3 separate regions of the Homo sapiens genome follow, and regions 1 and 3 are each linked to region 2. Evidence: promoter capture Hi-C in 16 types of primary human blood cells and fetal thymus (Javierre and others, 2016). All regions are on one chromosome and are shown on one strand. Each heading gives the region's core, a stretch centred on a gene start or on the middle of the fragment in contact. The rest is flanking DNA. Distances are from core to core; before and after follow the strand shown.

Region 1 (3,003 bases), core at 313-2,812, 230 kb after region 2:
ACCACGTCCGTTTGGGAAAACCTTGTGTCATTCTGTGAGAGTTACGATTGAGAATTCACAAACAGAAAATTTCTAGATAGCAAACAATTTTGGTTTCTTTTCTATCCTTTTCGCATACTCATAATTTCAAGAATCACTTGAAACAAAAATCAAGTCTCTTCTCTGCTCCCTGTCCTCTAGCAATTTTTAAAGTTATTGAAACATATTCCTGATTTGCATTATAGAAAACACCCAAAGAACATTCTCAGCTTACCACATATGCGCCTGAACTTGAAGTTTGTTGATTCCTTCTAAGTTTTGTTGGCAGGACGTGAACTCAGCTATTAAATTCCTGGTAAAGCGAGAGGTACAATATGTGACATATAATAACATGTACGACGTTTAAGAAAACTTTTGGCACCTATAGTCGTGGCTGAGTGGTTAAGCCTACTTTTTAAACATTTAAATAGCTTATTTTAAAATTATTTACCTACATATCTCTAAATAATATGTTTGTATGGACCTTCTGTTGACTTTATATAAGAGGAGTAACTGGTTCACTTTCTTCTTCACACCCCAGGACCCCCGACACACACATGCTCCCTTTCTAAGTCTTCTCATATGGTTATAGCACAATACATGATACTTTAATATTTGTAGCTTAAAATATGACAACTTTATAAACATAATTCAACAAGTGGGCAAAGAAATACATTGTTAAGTTTTCCTTTCCTTGCAATTTTTATTTTTCCCCGGCATTAGTACATAACTGTCTTTTCTTGTTGTTTTACTGCTTAAGCTTCTAGACACTTTTCATTAATTCAACCCCAAGCATTTCGTCAGTTGTCTAAACATTTCTCCAAAAGTTCAAAAGCTTTGCACAGTCTGTAGATTTCATCCTACTTTAAACATGTCTCCTTATGCATCTGTATTAGTTTGAGTAAACAGAAAAATAAGAACAGGAAAAAAAGTGTCACCTACAGCCTGCTCAAATCTGGACATGTTACTATATGTCACATATGGTACCTCTCATTTTACTAGGGATTTAATAATACTAGGTGAGTTCATGTCCTACTAATAAAACTCGGAAGGAATAGCTGAAATAACTTTTGAAGTTTGCTGTAAATATTAGTGTTTGTAATTATGCAGAACGGCGGTTTAGAGTTTTATCTTTGCTCTACCATTTACTAGCTGCATGACTTTGGGCAAGTTAGTTAACCTCTGCAAACCCCAACTTGCAGACAAACCCCAATTTGTCTCATTTGTAAAGTAAGAGTAATAGCAAGTATTTACTTCGTAGAATTGCGAGGAATAAATGATTCAGAACTTGGAATAGTGCATGGTATCTATTAACTGTTCAAACAATCAAAGCTAAAACTACTGCTTTTGTTATTTTTAATCTAATTAGGATAGTAATGTATTGCAACCAGAGATATAGATCTCTGAGAGAGGTGCAAATCAAAATAAGTTCCCTTACGGTGTCCATGACAATTATACCAATTTCCTCCTCCTATGAGGTAGATCTATTTTTGGAAGGGGGAAAAACAAATCCACAAAACGCTCCCTAGCAGAGGATGGTTTCGATCCATCGACCTCTGGGTTATGGGCCCAGCACGCTTCCGCTGCGCCACTCTGCTACGCGAGTCACAGGTCCCAGAGTTAATAGTCACCTTTTTTCTAGCGTGTCAAGTTTCCAAATCTCAAAATTATGTCTTCTCTCTTTTTTTTTTTTCCAGAGCAGTAATCTGTTCGTAATATGGCCATAGGCTTAGACTACTACTAAGAAAAGAGTTAATAAGAAATAGGAAAAAGGTTATTTTAGGTACACTTCTCCGATGTAATGTTTGTCACTGTGTATTGTGTGAATGTGTACAGTAAATACATAAGAGAAAATCTGCTAATATTTCAAATGTCATGTTTTAAAGTCATTGTAAGTTATAAAAATTTAAACACTTCTGAAGAAATAAACGTACTTTTCCTTTTTTCCATGTTGTAATTTGCTAATTCATAATCTGTAGGGGGTCTTGAGCCACATGTGGGGAAAAAAACGGCACATTCATGCACATTTTCAGATAATACTATAAGGGGGTTCACGGAATAGCTAGCCTTCTCTGATGTAATGGTTCATTCCCTGTATGAATTTGAGAAAGTAACTGCATTCAGGTTTTCTGCCTCTGGAAATCAAGTGACTTCTTCCGTGATTTGCAGGGAGGGTTGAGGAAATCGCAGAGATCCAGGGAAGTTCAATGGAATCGCTTTAGCCTGGAACAGCTGATCCAAATATGAAGCAGGTAAGCTTAGGTCATCCACTCAAACCAGACTACGTCTCTGCGAAGATCTGCTAAGCTTCTGAAGGTTGGAGAGACAGACATGGATGAAAAGATAAGGCCGCGGGCGTGGGAGTGAGTATGGAGAGAAGTCCAGGAGGGTTTAACAATAGGGATGAGTTGCTGAAGAGTATAATTCAGAATGTTTGCAATAAAAGAGTGAAAACGTCTCTATAAACCCGGAAATAAGCCCCAAAATACCATAACATATTCCTGTATATATCTTCCTACTAAAAAAAGAGAAGGGGGTAGTTTTGAGGAGGCTAAAGTAACTGAGTATACAAGTGCCTAAGAGAAGCAGGAAAAGCAACTTTTTTCCCCCTGTAATATGTAATGTACTCCCCGCCATACAGTTATCTGAGCCAGCGAGCTAAAAACTGTTGACCCCGACGTGATTTGAACACGCAACCTTCTGATCTGGAGTCAGACGCGCTACCGTTGCGCCACGAGGTCTCCGGGACACCTACGTTTTATTTACCTGTCAATCTGATTCATGAAAATAATTTCGGTACTGGTGAAGACCAGGCAGCTATTAACAGATACAAAATAGTGCCTAGCTGCTTCCCTCTCGGTAAAATTGCTGTCCGCCCAATCACTGATTTTCTCTGCCTCTGAATTGCTTCATTTTCACCTGTTCTTGTTTATATTTCATTCCGTTTCTTACCTAGTTTTCCCTGTATATTCCAAATATAGACGT
Region 2 (2,991 bases), core at 136-2,635:
TTACTTATGATCTCAGACTCTGCATTTTTTCTCTGTAATGTTTGACATTTCTTCCTAGCTAAGTCTCTAGTTATAAGGTCTGTGTTGTGGCATGTGGACAGTGAGTGGAAGAACCTAAGAACTCAATTTGGGGCAGAAGAATGTAATCAATTATTTCAGAAGTGATACAAACAATATGACATGTAGAGCATTCTGGCCTTTCCTGGGTCTTTTTTCTCCATTCCTGGATTTCTTCTCTTCATGTGAGCAAGTCTGAGGTTACTATATAATGTCTCTCACAGGCCACAGCCCCATTCTAAATATTCCCAATAGAAATTCATTTATTAACCAGAGAGTGGTGGGTGGGGTTGTTTTTGTTTTTTAAACAAAAGTGGATCTTATGGGCATTCTGGAAAGCTCCCGCAGGAAGCTAAGAATAAAATTTTGAATTGAGAAGTCCCTTTCTTCAAACCACATTCAGACCCAATTCTGCTATTCTATTTATTTTTCAAGGGGATTAGCCTTATTTTAACACCAATAATCTTATCACAAAAACCTCCCAGAGGAAGACCCTGTAGATTTTGTAATGACCTTAATCAAGTATTAGCCCTACACTTCAATTAATCCCCAACTGTACAAAACGAATGTTCTTTTCTCTAAAGCTGTAGCAAGTTGAAAGGGGATTAAAAACGGAGGGAAGGGAAGAGTGTTTGGAATTTCAGGCACAGCAAACAGGCACAGCAGACCAGGAAGAGCGTCCCGGGAAAACATATTATCCAGACTTAAGTTTATATTCCCTGTCTCTCTCAGACTTTTGCAGAAAAATGAGTCATTCAACAAATATTTGAATCGAGATAGGGAAAGTGACGAGGAAGAAGTTTGCACTTATGAGGTTTTAATTTGCAATTATTTGGCTACCTTTTTGCCTTCCCAAAACATAGGGTCTTTAGGAGTGAAACTTCATAGCCAAACTTATACCTTGTCCAGCACAGAGAAGGCCATCAAAATGCCTGGTTTAAATAAAAATATTAAAATGATTGGGAGGGTAAATCCCTTGACCTATAAATCTGACCTCCTTTAAACATTATTTGTATGTTCCCCAATAAACTATTCCGTAATTTATTAGTTAGCAAGTGGAAATAAAAAGAAATGTGGAATGGGGCTATGCTTAGCGTCATTAAGCTGACAGGAATACAGCGCATTCAACTTGCAAACACCCTTCCACTCCCACAAAGAGCAAGCTGTCACTGGCCAATCAAAACAATGAACCATAATGAAACAGTTTTTCTTGCTCCACCCACTTGGTGACCAAATTTGAAAAAAAAAAAAAACCGCGCCAACTCATGTTGTTTTCAATCAGGTCCGCCAAGTTTGTATTTAAGGAACTGTTTCAGTTCATACCTTCCACTGCGATAGGAATCATGTCTGGTCGCGGCAAAGGCGGAAAAGGCTTGGGGAAGGGTGGTGCTAAGCGCCATCGTAAGGTGCTCCGGGATAACATCCAGGGCATTACAAAACCGGCTATTCGCCGTTTGGCTCGGCGCGGTGGCGTCAAGCGCATTTCCGGTCTTATCTATGAGGAGACTCGAGGTGTGCTTAAGGTTTTCTTAGAGAACGTTATTCGAGACGCCGTCACCTATACGGAGCACGCCAAGCGCAAAACTGTCACAGCCATGGATGTAGTATATGCCCTAAAACGTCAGGGGCGCACTCTGTATGGCTTCGGCGGCTGAATCTAAGAATACGCGGTCTCCTGAGAACTTCAAAAAACAAAAACAAAAAAACCCAAAGGCCCTTTTCAGGGCCGCTCACAAAGTCGTTTAAAGAGCTGAAATGCGTTGCGAGAATGAGTTTGGATGACAGAAATAACCGTGACATCCTGCATAAGAATGAATTGTGTTTGCCATGACCGGCCACACTGTGACAAAATTTCAAAGCATAAAGTAGGCATAGAGAGGTAAGCGCTAATAAAGTGATTGGCTCCACAAAAAGCATTTTGCTGGGCGCAGTGGCTCACGACTGTAATCCCAGCACTTTGGGAGGCCAAAGCTAGTGTATCACTTGAGATCAAGAATCCGAGACCAGCCTGGCCAAAATGGTGAAACCCCCTCTACCAAAAAAAATACAAAACTTAGCCGGGCGTGGTGGTCTGCACCTGTAGGCCCAGCTAGCCCGGAAGCAGAGATTGCAGTGAGCCGAGATCGCGCCACTCCCCTCCAGCCTGGGAGACAGAGAGAGACTCCTCAAAAAAAAAAAAAAAAAAAAAAAAAAAAATTATGTATTTTAGAGCATTCTAAGAATGGTACTTTGGACTTAACCGAAGGGCTGGAGGCGCGTGTTGAACAAAGGTTATCACCTTTTGGCTCATGCGGCACACAGCTATGTAAATAAAGCATCTTTAGGGACAAGCTCTCATTTGCGGAGGGTTCTATGGCTGTTGTCCTATTGGCCAAAACAAAGTGGTCTAAGTCCGGGCGCGGTGGCTCACGCCTGTATTCCCAGCAGTTTGGTAGGCCAAGGTGGGTGGATCACGAGGTCTGGCGTTCAAGACCAGCCTGGCCAAGATGGTGAAACCCCGTCTACTAAAAATACAAAAATTAGCCGGGCGTGGTGGCGGGCACCTGTAATCCCAGCTACGTGGGAGGCTGAGCCAGAGAACTGCTTGAACCCAGGAGGCAGAGGTTGCAGTGAACCGAGATTGTGCCACTGCACTCTAGCCTGGGTGACAGAGCGAGGCTCCATCCAAAACAAAACAAAACAAAAAAGTGGTCTAATAATCCCCAGAACTGGAGGAAGAACCATAACTTATTGATTTTGTTTTTAACCTTATGTATGCCAGGCATGCTAGCCTTGTATACATACAAGGCTAGAGGAGCAAAGGTGCAGGAAGCCATCTTGAGGGAGTCCCATATTATTGAGAGACCGGCCAGCTGCTGGGAGAGGCTAGTTGTTCATCCTCACTGTATGTGATGAGAATCTGGTGACAGTCCATTGCTGGGCACAGCATTTAGG
Region 3 (2,723 bases), core at 202-2,701, 200 kb after region 2:
CCACCCACCTTGGTTTACCCAAAGTACTGGGATTACAGGCATGAGCCACCATGTCCAACCTTTCTTTGGTTGTTTCTGACTCATTTCATCACAATCAGAGAAGTCAGTCTGATGCTAATGTTCTGTGAAATTAGGCAAAACAGAAGAACCCCATGACTTAGCAGTGACTGCCTGGCCGATTCCTGACAATATGCAGGCCTAGTGAATACGGTCAGACCAGTTCCTGGATACCAGGGGCTGTTTTCTCACCTATACCCAATAAAATTACAAAAACAATAATATTGTGTATGTGTGTGTTTTGACATGATGTAGCATTAAAAAAATAAGGCCGGGCACAGTGGCTCACACCTGTAATCCCAGCACTTTGGGAGGCCAAGGCTGGAGGATCGCTTAGGCAACATGACGAAACCCCGACTCCACAAAATATACAAAAAATTAACCGAGTGTGGTGGCTGGTGCCTGTAGTCCCAGCTACTTGGAAGGCTGTGTTGAGAGGATCAGCTGAGCCTGGGAGGGCGAGGCTGCATCAAGCCATAATCACACTACTGCACTCCAGCCTGGGTAACAGAGTGACAGAGTAAGACCCTGTCTCAAAAGCAAAGCAAAGCAAAGCAAAGCAATTAAGAATATGATCAAGATTCAAACTGTATCCCCTAGGGAGTTACCAAGGAATTACCTAACAAATATCAGACATATTAGGTATCAAATCACCATCAAAACATAGCAGGCCAGGAAATGTACGAATTTTCATTTTTTTAAAGCTTCAGTTAGCAACAAATTCTAAAGTGTTCTGAAAAGAAAAACTATTGCTTGGTCTTGATTGTGTTTGGATTAGAAATTATAAAGCATGATAAACAAACCTGGACCTGAAGGGTTCATTAGTTCTTTGATTCATTCAATGTTTTGATGAATATTTATTGAGCATTGCGTATGTTCCAGGCATTGTTCTAAGAACAAATGTATATGCCACACACAAAATTCCCTGCCCTGGTGAAACCTAATTATGTAGAAATAAGCAATAAACAACTTATAAAGCAAAATATAGGCCAAGCACAGTGGCTCACACCTATAATCATAGCACTTTGGAAAGCCAAGGCAGGCAGATTCCTTGAACTCAGGAGTTTGAGACCAGCCTAGGCAACATGGTGAAACCTCATCTCTACAAAAAATACCAAAATTAGCTGGGCGTGGCGGTGCACATCTGTAGTCCCAGCTACTCAGGAGGCTGAGGAGGGAGGATCGCTTGAACCCAGGAGGTCGAAGTTCAGTGAGCCAAGATTGCACCACTGCACTCCAGCCTGGATGGCAAAGTGAGACCTTGTCTCACCAAAAAAAAAAAAGCAAAATACACAGTATGTCAGAGGATGGTATATGCATAGGAGTGGTGGCAAGTTAAATAGGGTGGTCAGGGGAAAATTAGCTCAGTGGTTTTCCATGCTGCACATTTGAATCCATAGGGAACTTTTGAGAAGGATTCATGTCAGGGCATTATCCCTATAGATTCTAATTCACTTGTTCAGTCATGATATTAAAAGAGAGTAGCAGTCAAGCTCTTCAATACTGGCTTGATCATAAAGGAAGATACACAATGGAAAACTAGTTTTAAAAAGGTGAGGCAAGAGATAATTTTCCCAATCCAAAAGGTACCAGGAATTGCTCCCAATACAGCACTTCCTGACCAAGCAAAAGAAGGTGTCTGCAAAATATCAGTCATAGCATTAGACCAGCTCCAATTAGGGCTTATTCTGCCCTGAGGTCTTTACAGTGTTTAACAGTGTGGTGGCCACACTTCCTGTGTAAACTCCTCCCTTTGAATGTTGGCTGGATCTAGTGACCTGCTCCTAACCTACAGAATATAAAAAATGTGATAGGATATTACTTTCATGATATCTCATGTGAGATATGTGTCTGTTGTTTTAAGCTGCCAATTTGGGTGCAATTTGTTATACAACAGATAACTAATACATGCAGGAAGGCCTGATCAGCCAGAGAGCAGTGGATCCTATGGCTGAAAGGGAGTATAGTTGAGAATGTAAAAATACAAGACATCATTGCCATAAATTTGCCAAGTCTGAGTTCAGATGCTAATCATTACATCATAGACCCTTTCCATAAGATTCTCCTATTGAAAGACTTGTGTATAAGCTTGGTGTAAATCTATACATTATCTTTTTTAAAAAAGCCATGACCAATAGATTAAATCTAAAGAGCATTAACAAATGCCTGCTATTTATTAATAAAGGGTATGGTAGGCTAAATAATGACCCCCAAAATAGGTCCACAACCAATCACCAGAACCTGTGAATAAGTTACCTTATGTTACCTTAAGTGGTCAAAGGAATTTTGCAGATGGGATTTCATTGAAGATTTTGAGATGGGGAGATTATCTTGGATTATCTAAGTGGGTCCAATGTAATCAAGAGGGTCCTATAAAAGGAAGGCAGGAGGTTCAGAGTCAGGAAAAGAAAATGTGACTACAGAAGCAAGAAGTGATGCAAGGAAGGGGCCACTAGAAGCTGAAAACGCCAGGAAAATGAATTATCTCATGATGTCTCCAGAAGATACACAGCCCTGCTAATACTTTTATTGTAGACTTCTGATATCCAAAACTGCAAAAAAACATTTAATTCACGTTGTCTTAGCCAGGGATGGTGGTGTGCACCTGCAGTCCTAGCTACTTGGGAGGCTGACAGGGAACGATTACTTGAACCCAGGAGTTTGAG

Evidence for each region. The method cuts DNA at HindIII sites, captures the fragments that hold promoters and counts their contacts. A CHiCAGO score of 5 or more calls a contact.
Region 1: a fragment that was not itself captured here is called in contact with the fragment with the promoter of H4C3 in region 2 in 1 of 17 cell types (monocytes); the score reaches 5.3 in monocytes.
Region 3: a fragment that was not itself captured here is called in contact with the fragment with the promoter of H4C3 in region 2 in 1 of 17 cell types (monocytes); the score reaches 5.3 in monocytes.

Annotation. Positions count from the first base shown.
Region 1 is chr6:26,328,757-26,331,759 of GRCh38, forward strand. It overlaps TRX-CAT1-4 (tRNA-iMet (anticodon CAT) 1-4), which reads right to left and starts at 1,616; the gene lies at 1,545-1,616. It overlaps TRW-CCA3-2 (tRNA-Trp (anticodon CCA) 3-2), which reads right to left and starts at 2,759; the gene lies at 2,688-2,759. LOC101928743 (a long non-coding RNA gene) reads right to left here. Exons shown (of 3, transcript XR_241992.5): 1 at 2,971-3,003; 2 at 254-331. The HindIII fragment of the contact is 1,422 bases long and covers 852-2,273 here.
Region 2 is chr6:26,102,548-26,105,538 of GRCh38, forward strand. H4C3 (H4 clustered histone 3) reads left to right here and starts at 1,386. Exons shown (of 1, transcript NM_003542.4): 1 at 1,386-1,790. The coding sequence starts at 1,401. The coding sequence ends at 1,712. RefSeq lists enhancers at 924-1,033, 1,058-1,748. The HindIII fragment of the contact is 10,429 bases long and covers 1-2,991 here.
Region 3 is chr6:26,306,300-26,309,022 of GRCh38, forward strand. No RefSeq gene overlaps it. Among named protein-coding and RNA genes, the nearest start is that of TRS-GCT6-1, 2.1 kb to the left of the region's middle. The HindIII fragment of the contact is 1,384 bases long and covers 760-2,143 here.